Linked DNA regions of Homo sapiens: all the other regions are linked to region 1. Evidence: promoter capture Hi-C in 16 types of primary human blood cells and fetal thymus (Javierre and others, 2016). All regions are on one chromosome and are shown on one strand. Each heading gives the region's core, a stretch centred on a gene start or on the middle of the fragment in contact. The rest is flanking DNA. Distances are from core to core; before and after follow the strand shown.

Evidence for each region. The method cuts DNA at HindIII sites, captures the fragments that hold promoters and counts their contacts. A CHiCAGO score of 5 or more calls a contact.
Region 2: a fragment that was not itself captured here is called in contact with the fragment with the promoter of ADRB2 in region 1 in 5 of 17 cell types (monocytes, neutrophils, total B cells and 2 more); the score reaches 8.8 in monocytes.
Region 3: a contact is called between a fragment that was not itself captured here and the fragment with the promoter of ADRB2 in region 1, in 4 of 17 cell types (M2 macrophages, total B cells, endothelial precursors and 1 more). The highest score is 6.1, in M2 macrophages.

The regions. Positions count from the first base shown.
Region 1 is chr5:148,825,141-148,828,169 of GRCh38, forward strand. ADRB2 (adrenoceptor beta 2) reads left to right here and starts at 1,471. Exons shown (of 1, transcript NM_000024.6): 1 at 1,471-3,029. The coding sequence starts at 1,692. The coding sequence ends at 2,933. RefSeq lists enhancers at 770-929, 1,786-2,371 and silencers at 1,200-1,509, 1,600-1,739. The HindIII fragment of the contact is 9,818 bases long and covers 1-3,029 here.
Region 2 is chr5:148,751,547-148,754,246 of GRCh38, forward strand. No RefSeq gene overlaps it. Among named protein-coding and RNA genes, the nearest start is that of ADRB2, 74 kb to the right of the region's middle. The HindIII fragment of the contact is 3,299 bases long and covers 1-2,700 here.
Region 3 is chr5:148,905,650-148,908,349 of GRCh38, forward strand. No RefSeq gene overlaps it. Among named protein-coding and RNA genes, the nearest start is that of ADRB2, 80 kb to the left of the region's middle. The HindIII fragment of the contact is 1,124 bases long and covers 823-1,946 here.

The DNA.
Region 1 (3,029 bases), core at 221-2,720:
ATTATCTTGTGTTTTTTGTTTTGTTTTGTTTTGAGATGGAGTCTTGTTCTGTCACCCAGGCTGGAGCGCAGTGACGTGATCTCGGCTCACTGCAACCTTCACCTCCCGGGTTCAAGAGATTCTCCTGTCTCAGCCTCCCGAGTAGCTGGGACTACAGGTACGTGCCACCACACCTGGCTAATTTTTGTATTTTTAGTAGAGACAAGAGTTACACCATATTGGCCAGGATCTTTTGCTTTCTATAGCTTCAAAATGTTCTTAATGTTAAGACATTCTTAATACTCTGAACCATATGAATTTGCCATTTTGGTAAGTCACAGACGCCAGATGGTGGCAATTTCACATGGCACAACCCGAAAGATTAACAAACTATCCAGCAGATGAAAGGATTTTTTTTAGTTTCATTGGGTTTACTGAAGAAATTGTTTGAATTCTCATTGCATCTCCAGTTCAACAGATAATGAGTGAGTGATGCCACACTCTCAAGAGTTAAAAACAAAACAACAAAAAAATTAAAACAAAAGCACACAACTTTCTCTCTCTGTCCCAAAATACATACTTGCATACCCCCGCTCCAGATAAAATCCAAAGGGTAAAACTGTCTTCATGCCTGCAAATTCCTAAGGAGGGCACCTAAAGTACTTGACAGCGAGTGTGCTGAGGAAATCAGCAGCTGTTGAAGTCACCTCCTGTGCTCTTGCCAAATGTTTGAAAGGGAATACACTGGGTTACCGGGTGTATGTTGGGAGGGGAGCATTATCAGTGCTCGGGTGAGGCAAGTTCGGAGTACCCAGATGGAGACATCCGTGTCTGTGTCGCTCTGGATGCCTCCAAGCCAGCGTGTGTTTACTTTCTGTGTGTGTCACCATGTCTTTGTGCTTCTGGGTGCTTCTGTGTTTGTTTCTGGCCGCGTTTCTGTGTTGGACAGGGGTGACTTTGTGCCGGATGGCTTCTGTGTGAGAGCGCGCGCGAGTGTGCATGTCGGTGAGCTGGGAGGGTGTGTCTCAGTGTCTATGGCTGTGGTTCGGTATAAGTCTGAGCATGTCTGCCAGGGTGTATTTGTGCCTGTATGTGCGTGCCTCGGTGGGCACTCTCGTTTCCTTCCGAATGTGGGGCAGTGCCGGTGTGCTGCCCTCTGCCTTGAGACCTCAAGCCGCGCAGGCGCCCAGGGCAGGCAGGTAGCGGCCACAGAAGAGCCAAAAGCTCCCGGGTTGGCTGGTAAGGACACCACCTCCAGCTTTAGCCCTCTGGGGCCAGCCAGGGTAGCCGGGAAGCAGTGGTGGCCCGCCCTCCAGGGAGCAGTTGGGCCCCGCCCGGGCCAGCCCCAGGAGAAGGAGGGCGAGGGGAGGGGAGGGAAAGGGGAGGAGTGCCTCGCCCCTTCGCGGCTGCCGGCGTGCCATTGGCCGAAAGTTCCCGTACGTCACGGCGAGGGCAGTTCCCCTAAAGTCCTGTGCACATAACGGGCAGAACGCACTGCGAAGCGGCTTCTTCAGAGCACGGGCTGGAACTGGCAGGCACCGCGAGCCCCTAGCACCCGACAAGCTGAGTGTGCAGGACGAGTCCCCACCACACCCACACCACAGCCGCTGAATGAGGCTTCCAGGCGTCCGCTCGCGGCCCGCAGAGCCCCGCCGTGGGTCCGCCCGCTGAGGCGCCCCCAGCCAGTGCGCTCACCTGCCAGACTGCGCGCCATGGGGCAACCCGGGAACGGCAGCGCCTTCTTGCTGGCACCCAATGGAAGCCATGCGCCGGACCACGACGTCACGCAGGAAAGGGACGAGGTGTGGGTGGTGGGCATGGGCATCGTCATGTCTCTCATCGTCCTGGCCATCGTGTTTGGCAATGTGCTGGTCATCACAGCCATTGCCAAGTTCGAGCGTCTGCAGACGGTCACCAACTACTTCATCACTTCACTGGCCTGTGCTGATCTGGTCATGGGCCTGGCAGTGGTGCCCTTTGGGGCCGCCCATATTCTTATGAAAATGTGGACTTTTGGCAACTTCTGGTGCGAGTTTTGGACTTCCATTGATGTGCTGTGCGTCACGGCCAGCATTGAGACCCTGTGCGTGATCGCAGTGGATCGCTACTTTGCCATTACTTCACCTTTCAAGTACCAGAGCCTGCTGACCAAGAATAAGGCCCGGGTGATCATTCTGATGGTGTGGATTGTGTCAGGCCTTACCTCCTTCTTGCCCATTCAGATGCACTGGTACCGGGCCACCCACCAGGAAGCCATCAACTGCTATGCCAATGAGACCTGCTGTGACTTCTTCACGAACCAAGCCTATGCCATTGCCTCTTCCATCGTGTCCTTCTACGTTCCCCTGGTGATCATGGTCTTCGTCTACTCCAGGGTCTTTCAGGAGGCCAAAAGGCAGCTCCAGAAGATTGACAAATCTGAGGGCCGCTTCCATGTCCAGAACCTTAGCCAGGTGGAGCAGGATGGGCGGACGGGGCATGGACTCCGCAGATCTTCCAAGTTCTGCTTGAAGGAGCACAAAGCCCTCAAGACGTTAGGCATCATCATGGGCACTTTCACCCTCTGCTGGCTGCCCTTCTTCATCGTTAACATTGTGCATGTGATCCAGGATAACCTCATCCGTAAGGAAGTTTACATCCTCCTAAATTGGATAGGCTATGTCAATTCTGGTTTCAATCCCCTTATCTACTGCCGGAGCCCAGATTTCAGGATTGCCTTCCAGGAGCTTCTGTGCCTGCGCAGGTCTTCTTTGAAGGCCTATGGGAATGGCTACTCCAGCAACGGCAACACAGGGGAGCAGAGTGGATATCACGTGGAACAGGAGAAAGAAAATAAACTGCTGTGTGAAGACCTCCCAGGCACGGAAGACTTTGTGGGCCATCAAGGTACTGTGCCTAGCGATAACATTGATTCACAAGGGAGGAATTGTAGTACAAATGACTCACTGCTGTAAAGCAGTTTTTCTACTTTTAAAGACCCCCCCCCCCAACAGAACACTAAACAGACTATTTAACTTGAGGGTAATAAACTTAGAATAAAATTGTAAAAT
Region 2 (2,700 bases), core at 87-2,586, 74 kb before region 1:
ATGGGGACTATGAGAAATTTCTTTTTTCTTAAAGGGGCTGGTCAGTGTCTCAGACTTGAAAACCACAGTGGTATAGTGTCTCTCCCAGGACTACCTGCTTTCTTCTGGCTTTCTTCTTGTGGTTTGAACCTTATAATACTCTTCCTCTTTTAAGCCACTTTATTAAGGTAGGATTGACATGCAAAAAGCTACACATATTTAATATGTACAACTTGACGAGTTTGGAGATAAATATAAAGCAAAATTTTTCCCCTCTCCTCTTATATATTATTTGTATGTATGTGTGTGTGTATGTGATAAGCTCACTTCATATAACATCTACCCATTCAGCAAATTTTTAAGTATACTATACAGTATTGTTAACTATAAGCACTATGTCGTGCAGTAAACCTTTAGAACTTATTCATTATGTATCACCAAACCTTTGAAACTTTCAACTAACACCTTCTAATATGTCCTCTCCTCAGTCCCTGGCAACCACCATTCATTGTCTGCTTCTAAGAGTTTGACTATTTTATATTTGTTGTATAAATAGTGTCATGTTGTGTTTGTCATTCTGTGTCTGGCTTATAATACTTAGCATAATATCCTCCAAGTACATCCATATGTTTGCAAATGGCAGGATTTCCTTTCCATTTTAAGGCTGAATAATATCCCATTGTATACATACATCACATTTTCTTTTTTTTACATACATTTTTTATTATACTTTAAGTTCTGGGGTTCATGTGCAGAACGTGCAGGTTTGTTACATAAGTATACATGTGCCATGGTGGTTTGCTGCACCCATCAACCCGTCATCTACATTAGGTATTTCTCCTAATGCTATCCCTCTCCTAGCCCCCCACCCCCCAACAGGCCCCAGTGTGTGATGTTCCCCTCTCTGTGTCCATGTATTCTCACTGATCAGCTCCTGCTTATGAGTGAGAACATGTGGTATTTGGTTTTCTGCTCCTGTGTTAATTTAATGAGAATGATGGCTTCCAGCATCATCCATGTCCCTGCAAAGGACATGAACTCCTCCTTTTTTATGGCTGCATAGTATTCCATGGTGTATATGTGCCACATTTTCTTTATCCAGTCTATCATTAAGGGGCATTTGGGTTGGTTCCAAGTCTTTGCTATTGTGAACAGTGCCACAATAAACATATGTGTGCATGTGTCTTTATAGTAGAATGATTTATAATCCTATGGGTATACACCCAGTAATGGGATTGCTGGGTAAAATGGTATTTCTGGTTCTAGATCCTTGAGGAATCACCACACTGTCTTCCACAATGGTTGAACTAATTTACACTCCCACCAACAGTGTAAAAGCATTCCTATTTCTCCACATCCTCTCCAGCATCTGTTGTTTCCTGACTTTTTAATGATGGCCATTCTAACTGGCATGAGATGGTATCTCACTGTGGTTTTGATTTGCATTTCTCTAATGACCAAGTGATGATGAGCTTTTTTTCATATGTTTGTTGGCTGTATAAATGTCTTTTTTTGAGAAGTGTCTGTTCACATCCTTCACCCACTTTTTGATGGGATTGTTTGTGTGTGTGTGTATGTGTGTGTGTGTGTGTGTGTGTGTGTAAATTTGTTTAAGTTCTTTGTAGATTCTGGATATTAGCCCTTTGTCAGATGGGTAGATTGCAAAAATGTTCTCCCATTCTGTAGGTTGCCTGTTCGCTCTGATAATAGTTTATTTTGCTGTGCAGAAGCTCTTTAGTTTAACCGGATCCCATTTGTCAATCTTGGCTTTTGTTGCCATTGCTTTTGGTTTTTTAGTCATGAAGTCTTTGCCCATTCCTATGTCCTGAATGCTATTGCCTAGATTTTCTTCTAGGGTTTTTATGATTTTAGGTCTTATGTTTAAGTATTTAATCCATCTTGAGTTAATTTTTGTATAAGGTGTAAGGAAGGGATCCAGTTTCAGCCTTCTGCATATGGCTAGCCAGTTTTCCCAACACCATTTATTAAATATGGAATCCTTTCCCCATTTCTTGTTTTTGTCAGGTTTGTCAAAAAATCAGATGGTTGTAGATGTGTGGTATTATTTCTGAGGCTCTGTTCTGTTCCATTGGTCTATATATCTGTTTTGGTACCAGTACCATGCTGTTTTGGTTACTGTAGGCTTGTAGTATAGTTTGAAGTCATGTAGCGTGATGCCTCCAGCTTTGTTCTTTTTGCTTAGGATTGTCTTGGCTATGTGGGCTCTTTTTTGGTTCCATATGAAATTTAAAGTAGTTTTTTCCACTTCTTTGAAGAAAGTCAGTGGTAGCTTGATGGGGATAGTATTGAATCTATAAATTACTTTGGGCAGTGTGGCCATTTTCACGATATTGATTCTTCCTATCCATGAGCATGGAATGTCACATTTTCTTTATTCATACATTTGTTGATGGACTCTTAGGTTGCTTTCATGTGTTGGCTGTTGTGAATAATAATGGAATGAACATGGGAGTGCAGATATCTCTTCAAGATCTTGATTTCAAATCCTTTGGATGCATACCCTAAAGTGGGATTGCTAGATAATAATGGTATTTTCATTTTTCATTTTTAAAGAAAAGTTTATACTGTTTTACATAGTGGCTTTGAGAACATTGTACAAGGTTCTTTATTGTCTATTACACATCCTCACCAACATTTGTTATCTGTTGGTTTTCTGAAAATAGTTGTCCTAACTAGTTTGAGGTGATATCTTATTGTGGC
Region 3 (2,700 bases), core at 135-2,634, 80 kb after region 1:
GTTCTGTTTTGTTTTATTGTTTGCTTACCCTGCTACTGCCAGTGAAGTCAACACTACAAGCAGACAGTAAGCCAGGAAACATTTCTCCCTGTCAGGTCAGCACATCCCATTAGGTGGATCTGGTGCTCAAGTTTATTAGATCAGGAGACCGATGCTGGGGAAGGCTCACAGAGTGGTCTGAGTCAGTTGCTCTACCATGAGGTTGGAGTGTAGTAGATTCAACATCCTGTGTACATCTCCTGATCAATGGCCAATCCCATCTTCCAGATTGGAAATGAAACCCACAGTAGTTTGAAATCTAGTTGGTGTCCCCCCAAGTACTTACCAGCAAAGTTATTATTTAGCTCATTACTTCCTAAATCATACCAGTGGAAAAATTAAGACTCAGGGGCATGAGGGCTTCTGTGAGATTGGGCACACCAGATTCTGAGGTTTACAGACCTTGGATGCAGGCTCTTCTCGAGTGAGGTTGAGTAGTTGCACCTGTGCTCTGCACCCTACAAATGACAGTCAGTGTTAAGATCATTTACAAGGGAGTTTTAAAAAGAGGAGAGGCTCATTGGAGAAAAAGTAGGGAAACAAATAAGAAGGTAGAAGAGAAATTCAAAAAAAGCTAGAGGGAATGAGAGTATGTACCATGAAACACTTAGAATACCTCAAATTAGTCTCCGAAAAAAGAAAATAAAGTTTCCAAAAAGTTTGGACAATACTGACTACTTTATCTCACCTCTTGGAAATTTATATCCTGTAATAGCACATCAAAATCCTTGTAAAGTTCTGTGATTTAAAAAAACAAAACAAAACAAAACAAACAACCATTTAAGCTTAACCTAGTACAAGCAAACTTTTTGATCATGGAATCCAGTTTTCTTGCAATGCTTATCAACAATCCTGGAATACAGTGTCAGAAAAACTGATCTAAGGAAACCCAGTATGCTGGAGTGAAGAGGTATAAAGAGGAAACTGGTCCCTGTCTGTAAGGAGCTTACAAAAGAGAGATGAGAATTGCCTAGATGAAGAATCTTACGGGTATTAAAGTTAAAGATAGAGAGGGGATCGTTATTATCCAGGTAAGCGGTATAGGCAGCACATGTTGTGCTTTCATTGGTTTATTCACAAGTTTCTGGACCACCTACTACATACAGACACCATACTGTGCCCTGGGATTCACCGTGAGGGCAAGGAAGACTGACCTCTCCACCTCTATGGCTTAACCTCTAGTGGGGAGAGAGAGAGAAAAAAAAAGTAAGTGTAGATGTAAGTAAATATAGAATTACATGTTGTGAAAAGAACCCTGAAGGAAATGAGGAGCAGGGTTCTCTGATGAAGTAAGGGGGACACCTGCCTGCTCTGGGGTCAACAGTGATGGGCTTTCCAAGGAAGTGACATTTAAGTTTCAGTTTGAAAGATGAAAAGAAGCCAGGCATGATGCAAATGGGGCAAAAGGATCAAAACATACTTCATAGAGCAAGTTGAGGCTGTGGGCTTGGCTCAGAGCCTAAGTAGGTTAGAGAGGGAGAAACGGGTATGCAGTCATTTCTTGATTTAAGCAATGTGCTATCGAGTCTCTAACATGAGCCATCAAGCCAAATGTGCAACAGTGAGCAAACTGACAGGCCTTGGCTTTTCTAGAACGTTCTATGGGAAAAGATGCAGAAGCAGCATAAGCATGTAACAAAACAAGGTAACTTCAGATATTGAACAATGCTATGAAGAAAATGAAGCAGAGTAATGTGATAGAGAGTGGGGTGGGGGTGCGGGGAAGAGACAGTACTTAAAAAGTTTATCAGAGATGGCCTCTCTCTCCATTTGGTACTTGAACTGAGATCTGAATGACAAAAAGGAGAGGGCTATATAAAAAGCTGTCTGGGAAAAACACATCCCAGAGAAAGGAAGAGGCAAGACCTGAGGTGGAGCATAAGTTCATGTTCTAGGAATCCAAGGAAAGCTTCTAAGTGACAGGAACAACATGACAAATGACAGGGAGGGAAGAAAGTTACGTTTTCTTTAACTATCCTTTGCTAAAATAGAGCTCTCAAGCACAGAAGTGAAGAATTAAATATTTGGAAAAGTAGGCTGTGGCCCCATTGTAGAAAACTTGAATGTCAGGGTAAAGAGATGAGACAAGTTCTCTACATGTTTTCTAATGTCACGTACAAGACATTGTTCCCAGGCACAGCACACTCCTACTGGCTTATCCACAAGTTTTACTACTTTTATTATTACAATTACACTTTTTATTATTACCCACCAAAATGCTGTGGGGTAGGGGGTGTAAGAAACCGCAATAGTTTATGAATAACTATTTATAACACTTTAAAAATGGCAAATATGGCAGAAATTGCTTCCTGTCCCCCAATATCTACTCTTTCATTCTTCCCCTGTAATATGGCTGCCAAATTTCAAGTTGAAACACGGCTACATTTCCCAGGATTCCCTGTAGCTAGGCTCAGCCATGTGACTAAGTTCTGCCCAATGGGATGTTGTAAGCAGAAGTAGAAAAGTCAGGTTCTGGATTGTGTCCTTAAGGGAGGGGGCGTATCCTTTATTCCCCTCCATCTTCTCCCTGCTATCTGGATTATGGATCTGATGGTTGGGTTTCCACTCAGGATGGTGACATGAGGGGACACACCTGAGGATGATAGAGAATTGGAAGAAACCTGGATCCTGGATGCCTGTGGAGGCTCCATACCAGCCGTG